Regions from separate parts of the Homo sapiens genome. Here regions 1, 2, 4 and 5 are each linked to region 3. Evidence: promoter capture Hi-C in 16 types of primary human blood cells and fetal thymus (Javierre and others, 2016). All regions are on one chromosome and are shown on one strand. The core of a region is centred on a gene start or on the middle of the fragment in contact, and the rest is flanking DNA. Distances in the headings are between cores, read along the strand shown. Region 1 has its middle 12 kb from the start of OR2T10. Region 2 has its middle 9.9 kb from the start of OR14I1. Region 3 holds the start of ZNF692 (zinc finger protein 692). Region 4 overlaps OR2T11 (olfactory receptor family 2 subfamily T member 11). Region 5 has its middle 12 kb from the start of OR2T27.

Evidence for each region. The method cuts DNA at HindIII sites, captures the fragments that hold promoters and counts their contacts. A CHiCAGO score of 5 or more calls a contact.
Region 1: a contact is called between a fragment that was not itself captured here and the fragment with the promoter of ZNF692 in region 3, in 4 of 17 cell types (total B cells, naive B cells, activated CD4 T cells and 1 more). The highest score is 10.8, in total B cells.
Region 2: a fragment that was not itself captured here is called in contact with the fragment with the promoter of ZNF692 in region 3 in 7 of 17 cell types (neutrophils, monocytes, M0 macrophages and 4 more); the score reaches 16.2 in neutrophils.
Region 4: a contact is called between a fragment that was not itself captured here and the fragment with the promoter of ZNF692 in region 3, in 5 of 17 cell types (total B cells, naive B cells, M0 macrophages and 2 more). The highest score is 15.4, in total B cells.
Region 5: a contact is called between a fragment that was not itself captured here and the fragment with the promoter of ZNF692 in region 3, in 2 of 17 cell types (naive B cells and total B cells). The highest score is 6.0, in naive B cells.

What each region holds. Positions count from the first base shown.
Region 1 is chr1:248,608,289-248,611,806 of GRCh38, forward strand. No RefSeq gene overlaps it. Among named protein-coding and RNA genes, the nearest start is that of OR2T10, 12 kb to the left of the region's middle. The HindIII fragment of the contact is 6,444 bases long and covers 1-3,518 here.
Region 2 is chr1:248,710,669-248,714,672 of GRCh38, forward strand. No RefSeq gene overlaps it. Among named protein-coding and RNA genes, the nearest start is that of OR14I1, 9.9 kb to the left of the region's middle. The HindIII fragment of the contact is 2,355 bases long and covers 140-2,494 here.
Region 3 is chr1:248,857,835-248,861,881 of GRCh38, forward strand. It overlaps ZNF692 (zinc finger protein 692), which reads right to left and starts at 1,251. Exons shown (of 12, transcript NM_017865.4): 1 at 1,084-1,251; 2 at 297-487; 3 at 1-25. The coding sequence starts at 475. It overlaps ZNF692-DT (ZNF692 divergent transcript), which reads left to right and starts at 1,330. Exons shown (of 3, transcript NR_186117.1): 1 at 1,330-1,412. RefSeq lists enhancers at 56-135, 736-785, 1,586-1,735 and a silencer at 946-1,445. The HindIII fragment of the contact is 15,686 bases long and covers 1-4,047 here.
Region 4 is chr1:248,626,858-248,630,446 of GRCh38, forward strand. OR2T11 (olfactory receptor family 2 subfamily T member 11) reads right to left here. Exons shown (of 2, transcript NM_001001964.2): 2 at 1-415. The coding sequence starts at 271. Among named protein-coding and RNA genes, the nearest start is that of OR2T11, 6.4 kb to the right of the region's middle. The HindIII fragment of the contact is 2,727 bases long and covers 399-3,125 here.
Region 5 is chr1:248,665,569-248,669,484 of GRCh38, forward strand. No RefSeq gene overlaps it. Among named protein-coding and RNA genes, the nearest start is that of OR2T27, 12 kb to the left of the region's middle. The HindIII fragment of the contact is 588 bases long and covers 1,631-2,218 here.

The DNA of each region.
Region 1 (3,518 bases), core at 795-3,294, 250 kb before region 3:
TTCCTTTCTCTTAAATCTTAAAGAATGGCTTTGTTTTTTAAAAGATATTCCACTAAAATATTGTTAAGTATTGCTCTATTTTTTATCATTTAATATAAATAAAATTCAAAGACCGGCCTAATACCACTATATTGTGATATTTTGCCTAGATTTCCTAGTAATTCTAACTTAGACACACACAGTACCATATTTTTGTGGGACATATCTGGATATAGAAAATACTATATCACATTTTGAAAAAGTATCTGCATGTACATTTTCATTCTAATCATTTACATGTATTTTTCAACCACAATATTTATGTTTGACCCTTTTTGTTGGTTTCCAAATCCACTGACACTTTTTAACCTCTCTCTTTATTTTCCTCAGGATTTTTAAGCCTCTTTTTCTGGTCCTTCATTATTTTTAAGCTGTTTCTCTTCATTTGTTAACATATTTTTATTTTACTTTTATCTTCTATTTATTCTCTAACATCTGTCACCTCAGTATTGATTTCTGTTTTTGCTTTATACCGATTCCTTTGACCCTCATGTAGCATTTGAATTCTATTACAAAGAAATATCAGATTTCATTTCAACTTTATTTCAAGGGAACCAACTTTTCATAATTTTGGTAGATATTATGTTGTATGTTTTCTATTTTGCTTTAGCTTTCTTTTTACTTTTGATATATGATGTTGCCTAAAACGAAATATTTAAGTAAATGTATTTCCATTCCTAGCTACCTATGTGTTTTAGGCAGATATGAGTTTTGAAATGTATTTGAAACCTTTTGGATCCTTTATATATGCTACATAGCTTTCATAGGACACCAAGCGACGCAATGTTTTACAGCCTTGTCTTGTATATTCTGTCCTATCCATTGTTACATGTCTGAGACCAAATTTGGCTGTTTTTATCATTTCTCTTAAACATCAGAACCTCATCTCCATCATTTTTCTGTAAACCTTGCTTTGAATTCTTCAGTCTCTCCTATCTTTAGTTATCTAATAACACATGCAATTTAATTCAGACTGATAAAGGATATTGTCTTAAATCTTTCTGCCTCTCTTTTGTCCTTACTGTGCCCCCAGTGACCAGCATAGGAATGGGCACAAAGCAGGCACCTGACTGTGGAGTGAATAAACCAATGCCTGGCAACATTTAGAATTTATAATCGGCAAATCCACTACTTAATTATATTGAGAGGATTAATTTAAAACAATCAACTTGAAAACAGTTAAAATGGTAGCTCAGTTCATTTACTGAAAACAAAGGAAGCATTTTAAACAATTCTCTTGGTCTTCGTAACCTTTCGGGACTAGCCCCCTAATTACCTGCAAGAATAGAAGAGCCCAGGGACCTCCTGAGAAGCCCAGTTTCCTCCGTGTTCCTTATGCTTTTTCCCTTCGTGGAAAAAAGTGATTGCACCTTTCTTTCCATTTCCTAATTCTACATCATGCCTTGTATTTAGCTGGAGACTCACTCAGAGTGGGAGAGCCTGAGAGAAGAGCTGGAGACAAGCAAGGTCTGCAGGGGATTCCAGGGCAGGCCGGCCCATGACCTGGCCAGCCCTGCCATGACCTGCTTTCCCACCCAGGTAAGCTGCTTACACTTCCGAGGTGAAACTATTAGAAAATTAAGAAAAAAAAATTAGACGTGTGTAAATTTAGGAGGCACAACATTTCCCTGGAGTTGAAGGGAACTATACTAAGTTCTACAGAACTTGAGTATTTGAAGATGCTTAAATTATCATTGTGCTCTATTCAGCCACAAGGATCTTGTGCTATAAATTTATCGTAGAATTTGCTGTTAAAACACACCCACACTAAAGAAGCCACCACATTACTCTATTTGTGACTTTTGTTGCAGAAATATTACTATACATTTATTTTTCATATTTCAGCTGTGAATTTTTAAAATCACATTCAAAGGCATGAAGAGTTAGGTAGTGAATTGTTTACTAAAGTGTCATTTTAAAAGAAATTCAAAAGTTTGTTTTACAAGTTTAAACATTTCATGTATACTAATCAGGGTCAGCCTTAATGAAGCTATGGTCTACTTAGAATCGAAACCTGCATATTAAGCTATTAAATGTTACTCAACAAAGTCACTGAAAATTTCTAGTGCCATAATCTGATGAAAACAGAAAAGTTATTTCTCCTCAATAGATTGTCAATGGTTATGGTAAAAAATTAACCAGTGAAATGTGTGGTTCCTTGGCACGACTGCAACACAATTCTGGGAAAATACTACAAGTCTCAAACTTTCCATTGTGATTCACTGAACTAAGGAAGCATTACTCAGTAAATTATTATGAAAATTTAGTAAAAAGTTAGGTGAAACTAGGTCCTGTTATCACATTAATTTAAAATATCAAATCGATTAAAGGTTTACATGTGGAAAATAAAAATATAAAACAAGACACATGAATGGGTAAAGATTTAGCTAAACGGTGAGCAAAGGCAATGAAGAAAACATGGAAAGTAAAATTAGTATTTGAAAACTGAAAACAATCTCTGAATAAAACAAATTTTTTCTAATTAGGAAATTTATGGTTCACATGACGAATCAAAGGCTGAGGATCGGTAATGTGTAAGATTCTCTTGCATATTCATAAGACAGACATGGCAATTTTTAAAATGACACAAACATGTTAGTAAACAATTTGTGGAAGACTTGTACATACAAAATAAGACAATGACAAAAAGCACAAAAATGTCCATTAATTTGTTGAATAACAGAGAGGCAAAAAAATGTGTGATTATCAGTGTTGCTGTGAGTCAGTGAAAACACCAGTGCGGCCTTTTGTGGTATGCCGGGGTAGATCACTGACGGGTACAACCCGAGTATATGAACATGAAAGGGACACTGTTTAATAAAAATGTAATAACCGATACAATAAAGGAATTCCTTACACAGATATTCATTATAGTATTGTTTTAGATTAGTAAAAAATTGGAAGAAATCTACATTGGAAATAAGAAAACTCAGATTCTGTTATTAAGGTAAATTGTGAAGTTATATTCAAAACAATATTTTTAAAAAGTAAACACTGAAAATATGTACACAAGAATATTTATGCAGATGTAGAGCTATATACAGCATGATTCTAATCTATAGTATTTTAATATATCTATGTATCTATATATTAAAAATATCATTTTCTCCCACAAAAAATAAGTATGTGAGATGGATATGTTAATTATCATGACATGGTCATTCCACAATGTGTACATGTATTGAAATATCTCACTGTACCCAAATATATATACAATTGTCAATTAAAAACAATTTTCAAAATCCTATTTTGAAAATTTTTATTCTGACTTGATCATTATACAATGTATATATGTGTCAAAACATCACCCCATACCCCATAAAAATATACAATTGTTATGAGTCGATTAAAAACAAAATAAACTAAAATTTTTACAAAGAAAAAATTTTATAGTAAATGTGGTAGGATTTATTTTATACCTTTATTTCTCCTTTTAGTTCCATCTATGTCTTAAATTATGTATAGCACTCACAGATGTA
Region 2 (4,004 bases), core at 67-2,566, 150 kb before region 3:
ACATATTTCATCCTACTGACAGAGTTAAGCTTGCTTCATCTGCCTAGTGTCCTGAAGAAATTTCACAAGAGGTTACGAGAAAATGTAGTTTCAAAACCAGCAACGGCAGCAATATCCACAGCCGGTTATGGAGATTTTAAGCTTTTGTTTGAAAACCAGTTTCTAAAAATGAATCCAGTTGCAATAGCGTATGTATTTTAAAGAGAATGATAATTATATAGGGCAGTAGAAGAAAAGCTGGAAAAAGAACACAACAAACTTGAATGTTGATGCAATTTCATGCTGCTCTTCATTTATATCTTTGTATCTTATAAAGATAAAATAGGGAGATATAAATAGGGAATCAAAAATGTACATAGTTGAGTGAAAATTAAGCATAAGCACAATTATTTAATGTGTAGAGTTTGTGTTTGAGATTGTGAAAATGTTTCAGAGATGAATAGTAGAGGTGGTTACACAACGTGGTGAATGTACTTAATGACACTAAGTTATACACTTGAAAATGGTTTCAATGGCAAATTTTATGCTATGTATATTTTGCCACAATAAAAAGGTTTTTTAAGAGTCAGTAGCTCAAAAGAAGACAGAGAGATCAAATGGCTAGAGATGCCTAGCACTCACCTTCTCCACAAAGAAGGACCAAAGTAACAAATTGATAAACACACATTGACTAGAATGTCTAAGGAAGAACACTGGAATTCAGCAGATAGTGTTCAAATTCAAAGAAAAGAAACTTTGAGGCACAAAAACTCAGGATGACAGCATAGAGAGGTAAGCAATGCAGCCTACCGAGATGTGCTTGGAGCCAGGAGGGACTCCCTCCCCATTGCGGAGAAAAGGTTAGCAGGAGGTCCCCAGAAGTCTATATTTCCACCAGACACCTGCAGTCATAGCTACAGGAGAGCCCTCAGCCCTCACAGTCCCTTAGTCTAGTATAGGGTACTGCCTAGAGTCCACATGACTTTACTACTCCAGAGAGAGAATTTATGCTGGATTCCCCCAATGTCCCAGGACCCAGGGCTGCAGCATGGCACCATTTTGGGAGTGGAGCCATCACCAGAGTACATACTGTCCAGGGGCCCAATTGCTCCTTCATCTCCACATCCATCCCTGGGGTCTCATCCACATCCCACCACAGGTACCCAGAGTGTTGCTGCATAAAGACACAACTGAGATCTGTTATAGCTGTGCAGCTGTGACCCTGGCACCTGAGCCCATGCAGCCCCTTATACCCTGTGGAGCCAGAAGACTGGTGTGTGTGCTCCCCAGACCCTGAAAGCCACCTGCCTGGGCTTTTGCTGCTTCTGCTGCAGGACACATCCACTCTAGTGGTAGTGTCATCTCACACCTGCACATACTGCCCAAGGGCTAAAGGAATGGCCTGCCCAGAGCCTGCTACCACCAACACCAGCACCCATGAATGCCACCAATGGGATGAAGACTGACAGTAAAGGGATGGAAAATAATATTCCATGCAAATGGAAATCAAAAGCATCCAAGAATAGCTCTATTTATGTCAGACAAAATAGACTTTAAGTCAAAAAACATAAAAATAGACAAAGAAAATCATTAAATAATGATGAAGAAATAAATTTAGCAAGAAGGTATAACAATTATAAATATATATGCACCCAACACTGGAGCACCAATGTAAAGCAAATACAATTAGATCTAAAGGGAGAGATAGACCCCTAATGTAATAATAGTTGGAGACTTTGTGAAAGGAAAATAAATCTTGGGGCCCCAAAATCACTAAGCTAAAGGGAAAAGTCAAGCTGGGAACTGCTTAGGGCAAACCTGCCTCCTATTCTATTCAGTCACCCCTCTGCTCACTGAGATAAATGCATATCTGATTGCATTTGGTCTTTGGAGGGGCTAGTCAGAAACTCAAAAGAATGTAACCATTTGTCTCTTATCTACCTATGACCTGGGAGTTCCCTCCCTGCTTCGAGTTGTCCTGCCTTTGCTTCGAGTTGTCCTGTCTTTCCAGACTGAACCAATGTTCATCTTACATATGTTGATTGATGTCTCATGTCTCCCTAAAATGTATAAAACCAAACTGCGCTCTGAGCGCCTTGGGCACATGTCCTCAGGACAACCTGAGGCTATGTCCTTTGTGTGCATCCTCAACCTTGGCAAAATGAACTTTTTAAATTAACTGAGACCTATCTCAGATATACAGGATTCACATTTTGTTAACTGTGGAGGGATTCTGAATGGAGATGCCCCTTGACCTTTGAAAAATCTCCTATTGGTGCTTGGTACCCGCATGAGCTAACTTTATGGCTCAAACCAATAGGACAATTTGCTGAGGTCTGGGAGCACCCCCTCCAGATGATACAGGAGCTAGAAAGAAATTATTTAGGCAGTTAATGAGGGTAAGAGAGTCCTTAGCAAGGTTTTGCTTTTAATAAAAAGCAGACCCCAAATCATTTCTTTTCTAACAAAGAGCAGCCTGAAAAATCAAGCTGCAGACATGGAAAAGCAAGCTAGAAGCTTGCATGGGTGAGTGCTGGCAGTTGTGCCAATAGGAAAAGGCTACCTGGGGGCCAGGCATGTTCAACATGGAGGCTCCATCTTCCCTTTTCTCTTTCAATCACATGTACAGTAAAGGAACAGACAACATGGTGCCAGCCAGGTAGGGGACCCATCTGCATAATAAAAGATTAGGATGGGGCTGCCAGCTTCTTTGTGTGCTATGTAAATGGCACACCTGCTCCTCCCAATCTCTCGTCTCCTGTGTAAATCACACTATGCCTCCTCAAGCTAATCCATAAAACCACATGCATTTCATCACGAAACCAGAAGACCCACTTGGAACCCCTTCTCTCTCTGGAGAGAGAGTTTTTTTTCTTTCTCTAGCCTATTAAACTTCCACACTTAACTTCACTCTGGTGTGTTTGTGTCCTTGATTTCCTTGGTGTCAGGCAACAAACCTCAGGTATTACCCCAGACAAACAATACTGCTTCACAGAGAATACCTGATCTCCCAAAATTTGGTTAAGATCTGAAGTTTATTTTGCCGTACAACTCCATTTTTTGAAGTTTTACTTGCTTCCAACAAGGAAGGCAAGATTTCTTGCTTCCATGATGATGGAAGGCAGGTAATTCCTCTATGGAGTTGGAGCTCGCTCCCAACAGGGAAGATGAGTTTGAGTTTTATTCCTGACTCTAGGATGGTAGAGGCTGTCTTCAGCCTGAGACCCATCCCTAAGTAAGTTAACAACCAGCTGTTCCTAATTTCTCTTTACCATTAGAGTGCCCAGTAATCATATTGTTGGGTTTTTTTATTGTTTTTTCCAGACTTTCTTCCATCAGATTTGGTCAAATCTGAGTGAGAATTTCAAATTTTGGGTAACAAAGCCTCTCTAATTTGGCTAAAATTCCTCTCCACTGCACAGGAAGGGAAAAAAACAAACACGTGCTTGGTTTCTGAGCTTGCTTCCTGTCTTAGAAAACAAATATTTTTTCATTCACTTTTCTTTCACACTATACCTCCTTCCCCCTTTGCCATATGCAGTACTACAAAATCTAGAGAAGACTTCTAGTGACTTGAACCCCTTTAAAGAATTCAGAACAAAGGCACCATTCACCCCTTTGGGCGTATTTTTTGGTAAGAAGCTTAAAGAGAAATAATTTTATATGAGAAAGAATCTTGTATGGTATATTTAGTCCTAGAATAAAATGACTGGTTGTTTAAGGAAGAGGGATATTCAGGAGAAAAAAAAAAAAAAAAAAAAAAAGAATTTGAACGTTCAAGCATGTCGTGAATGGTCTGCATAAGTGACAGTAAGAGGATTTACTTAAAAAAAACTGTTATATGATCAAGTTGTCTATTAATTAAAATAAAATTATGATAGTCTATCTAGAGATTGGGCTTGAAGTAAAAAAAGGAAACACACACTAATTAGTTAGAATGATAAAATTTTCTTAGGGGATTGATTTACTCTCAATTATGAAAGAATTTAATTTTTTTAACCAAAAGTTCAAATTTTATTGCATCT
Region 3 (4,047 bases), core at 1-2,500:
GAGGACACAGCCTGAAGAAGTGTACCTGCCAGCAGGAGAAGAGGCAGGTCAGGACTCAGGTGGCCAGCCACCCTCAGCCCTGGGCACTCACACATGTAAGGGGCCAGCCCTAAGGGCCGCTATTCGCTGAGACCATGAGGAGGGGAGCAGGACCCTCGGAGGCCACAAGTCACACAGGCCGTCCTGGTAAAGTGAGAAACCTGAGGGTGGAAAAGAGCAGCAGGACAGGCCCTGGAGAGGAGGCTAGGGGCTGCTGCCTGGGTACCCTCCCCCAAGCCCTTCTCCCGGCCCCTAACCGGTCCAACAGGAACTTGGCGAGCTGCGAGTGCAGGGAGAAGCCCAGCCGCTCCTTGAGGAGGCACCACTGCTCCATGTGGCCGCCCAGGCGGATGCGGCACTTGCTGCGGCGCGCGTCCAGCTGCCGCCGCTTCTCCCGCCGCCTGCAGGACACGTCCACCGCCGGGGAGGAAGCCATGTGCACCAGAGGCTGGAGGGTGGAAGGGACGTCTTCAGCGCCCTGCCGATCTCGGGGGTCGGGGACCCGGCTCCACCTGCCGTTAGGGCCTCAGTTTCCTCATCAGTGAACTGGGGCAAGACTAAACTATTTCAATAGCAGTGGCAGGTGTGGAGCCAAACCCCGTCCTTCTATGATACAGGGTGTTGAAGCTCAGCGCTACCATGTGAGTGTCGTCGGGTGGGAGGCAGGCAGACAGAAGCAGTCAGAACAAAGGCCTGCGCCCTCCAGTCCACTGAAGTGGAGCTGTGGGGAAGGGGCGAGAGACTTTCACGGGAAATTTCAACTGGGCTGGGGGCGGTCCACACATTTCATCTTGAATAGGGCAGCGGCCTTTACTGGTTTCTAGGGGAAGGAAAGGTCGTGTCCTGGCGTGCAGCTGGGGGCGCTCTTCATAGTTGGGTCGAGTGGCGGTGAGGCCGTGGTCAGAGGTCTGGAGGGCGCCCCCCATCCACCCCGTCTTGGGCACCCCCACTTAATGCTGACAGTGAGTGGAGCGGACTAATCCCAATGGCAGTTCCCAGGCTGCCCAGAGCCCCCGTCGCGACCCACCCCCACCCCGGCCTTACCTGTGCGCCCCCACGCGCCCTCACCCCCACTGCGCCTGCGCCTGCGCCTCCCGGGCCTAGCGAGCAGGCCCGGAGCTGCTGGAAGACAGGGGCCCACCTCGCGCGCGCAGCGTTTCTCTTTTAAGAAGAAACGGTGCCTCTCGGCGTCGGCTGCTGTAGCCCGGAACTGAGGCCCGCGCCCCAGAGGGAGGGGCGAGTCGGAGGCCGACGCCGTGCGCCTGCGCACTGGGTGCCCCGCGCAACGCCCGCCGGGAATCGTGGTTGCCCGACTCAAGTCGCCCGCGCGTGTCGCGGAGCCCCGCGGCAGTTGTGGTTGGGTGGCTTCTGTGGTGAGCGTCTGCGCTTGGTGACCAAAGGTTTGAGGGAAAGTGGAAGAGACAGGGTCAGGCCTCCTGTGCTCCAACCCCAGCCCACCCGGCCTGTATGGGGACGTTGCCTCTTCACTTGTTCCCGTTTTGTATTCACCTTCGATTTCCCCCTCACAGTTGCCACCCGCAAACATGATGCAGAATCAGTCACTTTGAAAGACCCACAGAGGGTCCAGCTAGAGCCCTCTGTGGACCGCAGAGTCCCACCAGCTACAGCCCACTTCTATTACCATCAGAATTCCTCCTAAAAGTTGCCTGCATTCTCTGTGTACGCTCACTTCCCATCCTCTTCTCTTCAAATGGCTCTGATGGAGCTTTCCTCCCCACCCAGCCACTGCAGTGGCGCTTCACAAGGTCACTTGAGACGGTCATATTGCTACATAGCAGCTGTCAGTTCCGTCCGCCTCTCTGCCCTAGAAAGAGCGCGACTATGTAGCTCTCGTCCTCCTCATCTTTATGGCTCCCTCTACATTTTGGGCCCCAGTTTTACTTCTGTGACTTCATATGCTCCAGGTTTTCCACCCTCCTCACTGGCTCCTTCTATCCTTTTTTTGGATCCATTCCCTCTGTTCTGCCAAAAGATGAAGTGTGCCCTGGCTCAGGCCTTGAACCAGATCTTCTCTCGTCTGCATATGTTCTCCTGGGTGATCTAATTAGTTCCATGGCTTTAAATACACTGATGGCTCCTAGCCTAGCCCTCTTTCAACTCCAGTCATATATCTTACTGCCCGCTTGACTTACATGTGTTAACTGAGCTAACACGTGTAAAGAATGTAGGACAGTGCCTGGCATGTAGAGAGCGCTGACACATGATAGCTGATATTTTCTCCAACATAAATATGGCAAACATATAACAATAACGCCTGTACCCTCCCCCATGCCAGTAAACTATGTCATCATCCACCCACTTGTTCAGAAAAAAGGGAATCAGCCTTGATTCTTTGCCTTTTATGATACCTAAACCATATACATCAGCAAATCTTGTTGGTCCTGTCTCCAAAAATTTATCTTAAATCCAATCACTTCTGACCCTCTCAACTGCTAAAACCCTACTCCAAGCCACTGGTATTAATTTTCTGTAATTGTTGTAACAAATTGTGTTGTGTGTTGTTTTCAGCCACAAACTTGCTCCCTTTACTCAAATTTATTTTCTCACAGTTCTGGAGGCCAAGGCATCAGCAGGGCCACAGGCCATTGTAAGGGCTCTAGGGGAGAATCCTTTCCTTGCTTCTTCTAGCTTCTAATGGTGGCCAGCATTCTCTGACTTGTGGCCACGTCACTCCAATCTCTGTCTCTGAGGTCACATTGCCTCCTTCTGTGTCAAATCTCCCTCTGCTTCTCTCTTACAAGGATGCTTGTGAATGCATTTAGAGTCCATCCTTATAATCCAAATAATCTCTCCATCTCAGTATCCTAAGACAATTTCTTCTGTAAAGTATTTGCCATATAAAGTAATCGGCTGCACACGGTGGCTCACGCCTGTAATCCCAGCACTTTGGGAGGCCAAGGCGGGTGGATCACTTGAGGTCAGGAGTTTGAGATGTGCCTGCCCAACATGGTGAAACCCTGTCTCTACTAAAAATACAAAAAAAATTAGCTGGGCATGGTGGCATGGGCCTATAATCCCAGCTACTCGGGAGGCTGAGGCAGAAGAATTGCTTGAACCCAGGAGGAGGAGGTTGCAGTGAACCGAAATTGCACCACTGCACACCAGCCCGAGTGACAGAGCAAGACTCCATCTAAAATAAAATAAAGTAATCTCCACAAGTTTTGGGGATTAGGACACAGATATCTTTTCTGGGACTATTTTTAAGCCTACCATACCACTATCATCTCTCACCTGGTCTGTGGCTACATCTTCCTAATGGATCTGCCTCCTACTTTAACTTGTACTCTCACAAAGCAGGGAAAATTTCCTCAAAGATCAAATCTTTTGCTTAAAATCTGTGAGTGGTGCAATCCAAAATCCTTATCATGGCCTCAAGGACCTACTTAATTGGGCCCTTGGCTTCTTCTCTGGCATCATCCCCCAACTTTTCCCACTTTGTCCTCCCACCTTTTTGCTATTTCTCAAGTGTGCCAAGTATCCTAGAGGGAGTTCTTTTGTCTCTGGAGCACTCAATTCTCCCCTCAGCCCCCACCCCATCCCCCAGCCCACCACCCAGCTGTTCATCTGTTTGCTCCCTTCTCATCTTGTAAATCTCGGCTATAAGATCACCCACTCAGCTATAAAATCCCTCATTCAGAAAGCTCCCTTTCCTCAGTCATGCTCTACCTCACTGTGCCCTATTGTATCTTCTTCATGGCACTTACTTTCTGAAATCATCTCAGGGACTTGTTTGTGTGTTTGTTATTGGTATACGATGATTGTTGACTAGCCCAGCCTTCTCCTCTGCAGCCTAAATATCTCAAATGACATGGTGTGCAAACATGAACACCCTTAGGATGAGCCCAGTGTGTCCTGTGCATATTCCTTTTGATTTGTGGTATCAGTGACTCAACATACTTGTCTGACTAGTGTAAGGTAGGAAGGAAGATGTCCCAGCTACTTTACTCATTAATGAATGTGTAACTTTTCCAGCTACTTTACTCATTA
Region 4 (3,589 bases), core at 512-3,011, 230 kb before region 3:
AGGAAATGATCTTCTCTTTAGAAACCATGTCTGCCAGGAGTTTTGGGACAGTGGTACAGATGAAAAGGGTGTCCATGATGGACAGCTGACTGAGCAGAAAGTACATGGGGGTGTGGAGGCGAGAGTCCACCTGAATCAAGAATATCATGACCAAATTTGCAGTCACGGCCCCCAAGAAAACAGCAAGGATCACTGTAAATACAATCCCGGCAGCCTCACTGTTCACCAGAAGCCCCAGGAGGGTGAAGTCAGAGGATGATGTGTTCGTCATTGATATGGCCCACGAGCGTCCCAGGGCAACGGGAAGACACAAGGACCAGGAAGGAGGCAAGAGAACACGGTCAAGATGGGAAAGGTCTGCAGTAGAGGTGACACTTCTGAGGGTACCGTCAGGATGAAGCTTCCAGGCTAGAGGCTAGAGAAGAACAGGCAGACCAACATGCACATCATGAAGCAAAAACCATGGCTGCATTTCCCTGTCAGAGAACAGCTCCTTCTATATTGCGTCTATGGTTCATCATGCTGCTGGAGGTTATGGTAACTGCGTGATACAATTGCTGTATGCTACACCAAGAATGGGGTTTTAACCATATCTGTTCTGTCCATGCTGCATTTCTTGTATCCAGAAAGTTATCCAGCCCATAGTAGGGTTAAGTAAATACTAGTTGGAAAAAAGGGTGATTCATTGACCAAATGGATAAAGGGGAGTGAAGTAAATCACTGAAGAAATGAAGGGTTAGGATAACTATTAGGGAACGTTTTATTCACGAAGCCCCATGTTTCTGTTCTATTTCTTTTTAATTATTTGTATAAGTTTAAGGACGACAAGTGCAGTGTCATGACATGGATGTATCGCATAGTGGAGTCTTGTCTTTTAGGGTAACCGTAAGTCAAATAGCGTAGGTTGTGCTCACATTACTAATTTCTCACCCCTCGCTCCGCTTTCACCCCCTACTCTTCCAAGCCTTCGATGCCTATTATTCCACTGTTTATGTCTAAAGTTGGGACTCCTCACTGTTCTTTGTGCTGTTTTGCTAACCTTTTTGCAGATCTTTCTTCAGATAAATTAGAAGGTAAAAAAAACTATTTGCAAAAAGCTCCCAGAATTAAGTTTTTAAAAAGCAGTTTATGACACTAAGCTGACTCCCTGCATTGCTCTCCATTGCTACTGTAGGTTTGGGAAATGGGCAGGGAAATTAAAGGAAAATGTTGGTAGGTTGAAGCTATGTCAGCAGCAGACACACAGGAGCAGGGTTCACCAAGCTACACGTCTGCCAGCACTTACCAGAACTGAGGCCAGAGCCAAACTCAGGCTTAGAAAGCTACGGAGCAGATACATGGAAATGTGACAGCAACAGGCCACCGTTTAAGAAGGAATTTTATCTTTAACATACCAGGTGGAAGATAGATTTAACTGTTAGACAAGAGAAAGAACCATACATGTAGTAAGAATCGCCCCCCTCTCCCCGCCAGCACCTCCTCCCCGGCATGGTAGGCCTCAGTGGCTTGAGTCTCAAACATTTGTGTAAAAATGAAAGTCCGATCAACGGGGGAGCCCGGATGCTGCAGGGTTTCCCCCCATTCACATGTTGCTAGACACACCTTGGCTCCACTATCTAGTGTTGCCAGATTTAGCAAAGATACAGGATTCTCAGCTATGTTTGACTTTCAGATAATCAAAAAATGTTTTAGTGCAAGTTCATAATGTTCTTAACACCAAAAAAAAGGGTTCACTGTACATCTGAAATTCAAATTTAGCTGGTTGTCCTTTACCATGCTGAAGTCATATCTGGTTTCACAAAGGTACCAGAATTGTTATGACCTTGAAAAGTGACCAGTAGAATCAGTACAAATAGAGTCTAAACAAAAAAGTTATTTACTAACATCAAAATTAAATTGGCTTACTCCCAATTTCCCTCTGATTGATATATTCATATTACTGTGAAAGGGGCTAAGGACTGTGGCCTCCTCTGTCAGGCCTCCCAGAAATACTCCGTGGTCAAAACTCTACTTCAGTGAGTCTTAGCCTCCTGATCCACTCCTGATCGTTTCAATTCTATTCCATTTCCCAAGGATAGTGAACACAAATATTGCCTAAAAATATATTCTGCTAATTCAAAGTCCAAAAATATAAAAGAAACATTCTATATTAGACTCCAAAAACTTCCTAATAGAATTAACCCACACTAAGGAGAAGAGAGCACATCTCTTTGTCATATTAAACAAATTCAAACATTTTATCCAAAATGTATAAAACAGTAAAAACAGGCCAGGTGTGGTGGTTCATGCCTGTAACCCCAGCACTTAGGGAGGCCAGGGCGGAAGGATCACTTGAAGCCAGGAGTTTGAGATGAGCCTGGGTAACAGAGCTCGTCTTTATAAAAAACTAGCCAGGCGTGGTGGTGCACGTCAGTCGTCCCAGCTACTCAGGAGGTCGAGTTGGGAGAATTGCTTGAGGCTAGGAGTTTGAGGTTACAGAGAGCTATGATTGTGCCACTGCACTCCAGCCTGGGTGACAGAGCAAGACCCTGTTTCTAAAAAAGAAATGAATAAGTAAAACTTATTTATTAACAATTAAAAACCTATAATATTTCTCATGTCCATAGCTAGTAGGTGCCTGGCTTAATCCATCATGACACATTTTACCCTGGTTGTTCCACGAACTTTCCCACGATCTCCCTGCTGTCTCATGAATCCCTCCAAGTCTAGTCTCAGCACAACCATCAAAGTCACATCGGGACCCGTGCATCCCGCCACGCCACTTTCTGCTTGAAACCCTGCAGTTGTGCTTTACATCATACATTAAGGCCCATCACGTTCTGAACATTTTGTCTTCTGAAATGATCTCCCGCCGACTCCAGTCTGTCTGTCCCTGGGCTGCAGCGACGGTGGCTTCCTTGTCCTCTGTCCCCACTTTGCAAGAGCCCTGAGCCCAGGCCATTGCCTCTGCTGCTCCCCTTGCCTGGGGCTCCTCCTCCAACCGTGCAAGGCCATCCATCCCCTCATGTACTTCAGGGCTTTGCTCAAAAGCCACCTGCTCAGAGGTCCTATGACTATTTTTCTTCACTTTTCTTAACACCGTCTGACACTACCTTGTGTTTTGTGTCTCTTCAAGCTAGAAAGTAAGCTTCATGTGAATAAGGATTTGTGCCTATTTTGTTAACTGTACTCTCACCATCTAAAGATACGACTGGCACATTGTAAATCTTTGAATAAATCATTTTTAAACACATTCAGCTAGCAAAAATGCAAATTATTTTATGCTTTTTAAGGAATACCTCTAGAATTCCTTCAAAACACCTCCTGATTTTATATAATGTGCTGAAGAGAAATAATTTTTTTTAATGCTAGGCACTTGTGTTTATCTTCAATGCAAAATAGACAAAAAAATGGGATCCACCAATATTTGATCAAAAAAAACTTCATTCTAGGAAAAATAAATAACAAGTTTCTAAGATCAGACAGCAATACAACTTCTAAATCATTAAGGTTTATATACAGTACAAATTTGAGACAATTACGCTCTGGTTTAAAATACTTATAGAGTAATTAAGATGTCAGCATAATTCACAAAAAAAGGAGGGACTTG
Region 5 (3,916 bases), core at 675-3,174, 190 kb before region 3:
ATCCTGAGAAAGTGTGCCCAGGGTAACTTCTGTCTCCCTAAAACTTAGGGAAAGAACTTGCAGGCAAAGTCATAAATCAATACATGTAAAATATACATTGTTCCAGCCTGAAAAAGCAGGACATGAAGTGGAAGGCTTATAAGTCATACGTGGATGCAAAGATTTTTCTGATTGGCAATTGGTTGAAAGAGTTAAACTAAAGACTTGAAGTCAGTAGAAAAAAATGTTTGAGTTAAGGTAAGGGAGTTTGTGGAAGCTAAGATTCTTGTTACATATATGAAGCCTCCATGTAGCTGGCTTCAGAAAGAATAGATGGTAAATGTCTCTTTTTGGACCTTAAAAGGTGTGAGCCTCACAGTTTATCTTTCCTAGATCTGGAAAAGGCCTAGCTGCACTAATGGCAGATGCAAAATTTCCCCCACAAAAGATAGCTTTGCAGGGCCATTTCGAAATCTGTCATATAAATATATTTTGTGGTAAAATATTTTTATTTCTTTCAGTGTCTACTATCTGTCATGTGATGCTATATGGGAGTCAGGTTGGAATTTGGTATCTTATTGTTTTGTCAGTCCTGTGATCTCTATTTTAATGTTAATTCCACAATGGAGGGAGTGCAACAAGGTGTGCCCAATCCCCCTTCCCTCATGGCCTGAAATTTACTTTTTCAGATTGCTCTCAGCTCCACTGGCCAAGAAGGGGGATCCATTCAGTTGATTGGGCGGCTTAGGATTTTACTTTTAGATTTCATCAAGAAGCCATATTTGGAAGGATCATGTTCTGAACCCTGACAGAGGAGTTTAAAATTTTTCACATCTGTCTATTAACTCATCATAGACTAAACTAGTTTATGCAGTTAAATAAAATAATGAACTATTTCAAAACAAAATTTGACTCTAGTAGACAGTGTCTGCACAATCATAGCAATCCAGTTGTGAAAAATGTTATAAAAGAACCAAGAAATAACCATGTGACTACAAAACAATGAGGGATTAGGCATCAGAAGACTGAAAATAAGCAACATAGTTGAGTGTACTCTATTTTCCATCTCTCTCATTTTATTGTATTTACTCTTGCATTCCATGAGACAGTGTTTCTGCCTCTATCCAAAATTAGACCTCCTACTTGGGCTTTGTGTTGCAACCTCAGAAAATAATAATAATAATAATAATAAATCCCAAGCCCTGTCATTGACTGATTGGAAACTCTCTTGCCCAGGGAGATCTCAAAGAAATCTGAAAAACTAGTTCAGGCCATGCGGGAAGGGAGGTCAGACATGACTCCTTGTATGCCATCCCTTTGGAGTTTAGGCAAAACTGACCAGTATTGACATTAACACAGTGATTATAAGACTGACAAAACAGACTGTAGCAACAATAGCAGATTCCAACCTGACTCTGGTGTAGAATCACATGACAGGTAACAGGCCCTGAAGGAAATAAAATATTTTACCCCAAAATGTATTTCTTTGACATGTTTTGGAATGGCCCTGCAAAGCCAATTCTTCTGGGGGAAATCTGAATTCTGTATAGAATTTGCTTCCCTTTCTAAGTCCTCGTGAGGATCCAGAAAACATTTAACTAAGAGTCTGACACCTTTTACCATCTATCCTCTCTGAAGCCTGCTACTTAGAAGCTTTCATAGGTTGATTAAAAAATTCTTGACTGGCAGTTGGTTGAAAGAGTTAAACTAAACACTTGAGGTCTCTAGCATTACCATTGAATGCTAAATGACTGACCAGCATTAACATTAAAACAGAGATCATGAGACTGACAAAACAGATTCTAGGTGGTAATAAGATACTAAATTTCAACCTGACTCTCATATAGCACCACATGACAGATAGCAAACCATGAAGTAAATAAAAATACTTTACCCTGGAACATACTTATTTGACAAATTTTGAAATGGTCCTGCAAAGGTATCTTTTGTGGGGGAAATTTTGCATCTGTAGAGAAACTTGATTAATGCCGCTAAGCCTTTTCCAGATCCAGGAGAGAGTAAATGAGAGTCTGACATCTTCTAAGGTGCAAGAGAGACATTTGTCAACTATTCTTTCTAAAGCCTGCTACATGGAAACTTCATCTACATAACAAGAACGTTGGCTTCCAGGACCCCGTTATCTTAACTCGAGCATTTCTTTCTATAACAAAAACCTTGGCTTCCACAACTATGTAATCTTAAGCATTCCTTTCTACTGACATTTTAAGTCTTTAGACAAAGCTTAACTCAAACAGTTGCCAATCAGAAAATCTTTGAATCTATTTTTGACTTGTAAACCTTGACTTTAAGATGTCTAAACTTTCTGGAACCAATGTATATCCCTCATGTATTGATTTATCTCTTTGATTGTAACTTTTGTCTCCCTAAAATGTATCAAACCAAGCTATAACCCAACCACATTGGGCACATATTCTCAGGACCATCTGGGGCTGTGTCCTGGGCCATTTGGCTCAGAATAAACCTCTTCAAATATTTTAGAGTTTCACTTTTCTTCATCAACATTATTTGGTGCCCAATGCAGGACCTCAGAGAAGACTAAGGACTCTTCTCCCCAAAAGGAGTCATGTGAACTTGGAAATAAGGTACCAATTTGGGCTTGTTACCAGTGGAAAGTCTTGACTACAAGTTGTCCAGGTCCTGCTCCCAGACCTTGGTGTTTTCTCTTTTAGGAAGTTAGCATAAATTGGCCTTAAGTTCCCTGTCTCCAGGTCTCCAGACCATATTCTCCTGCTGCAGGCTTATTGAAAGCCTCCTGACTTTGAGGTTCTCCATAGGTGGAACTGGTAAGTAAGTACTCCTGAGCCACAGATCCCTTATGTAGTTAATAGTACTTTGGTTTATTCTGAGCTGGTCTTTTCCTGGGAACTTGTTTCAGATTCTAATTTTGGATTCACAGGTTCATTCTAGAGTTTTCTCCATTGCTTTTTTCTCCAAAAATTAGTCTCAATTGGTTCATCTGTGCATTTGCTTGAAAAACCTGATGTTTGTATAAGTGAATGAGAGACAACTTCTGAGCCCCACTGCACTGAAACCCACGCTACAGTCTGGCTCCTCCACTAAAAAACAAACAAACAAAAAAAAAAACTTGCAAAGCAAATTCTCAAAGATTGAGAAAAGACAAGGAGATGACCTCCTTTGGGGCACCCCTGGGGGTTTTATGGCACTCTACTTGCAAATGTTTGTGTAAATGTGAAGGTTTGAGAGCATGCTTGGTTTTCTAGTACTCTGGCTGGTTATGTATTATAGTCTGTTCTGGCACATTTTTAAACTGATGGGTAAATTCAGAGCTCAAAGTTGACCTGCAACTATAGAATTAAATATAGCATCTCCTAAATTCTCAATTTCTCTATTTTATTTTTCTGTTTTAAATGTACTGTTGCTTTTCTACTGGTTTTGAGATAAAACCCATTGTTTAAATTAAACCATCTTTTGCAAGCTGGTGAATCTGTATTGCTGTCTTGTGACTAGAGTTCTGAAATAAAACCTATGGGATCTTTGTATCTGTGTATCTATGTTGAGTTGTGTTTATGTTACATGTACATGTATTTTCTTATATGTTGTAACTGCAAGGTATCAAATGGGCTTAAAAATAAAGGATTACTCATAAAGTCCAAATGCTCTTCAAGTTCACATGACAAGTAAATCTTCAATAAATAAGCTGGCTTTATAATTATTAGTAAAATAAAATTTGAAATGCCTTCAGAATTGTCAGCATACATTTTTGTCTGGATTTATTGGTGAAATAGTTTTATATTTAGCGGTGTTTGTATTATAAGGTACCAAACTTTGTCATGAAGGTTATAAAACTTTAAAACCCATCCCTTAATGATCATTGTGTAATTTTTTATAAATAAGACATTTAATACTGTTGATTTATTGAAAATAGGTAAAACCTTAGTGGTTGGCCAAAAAAAAA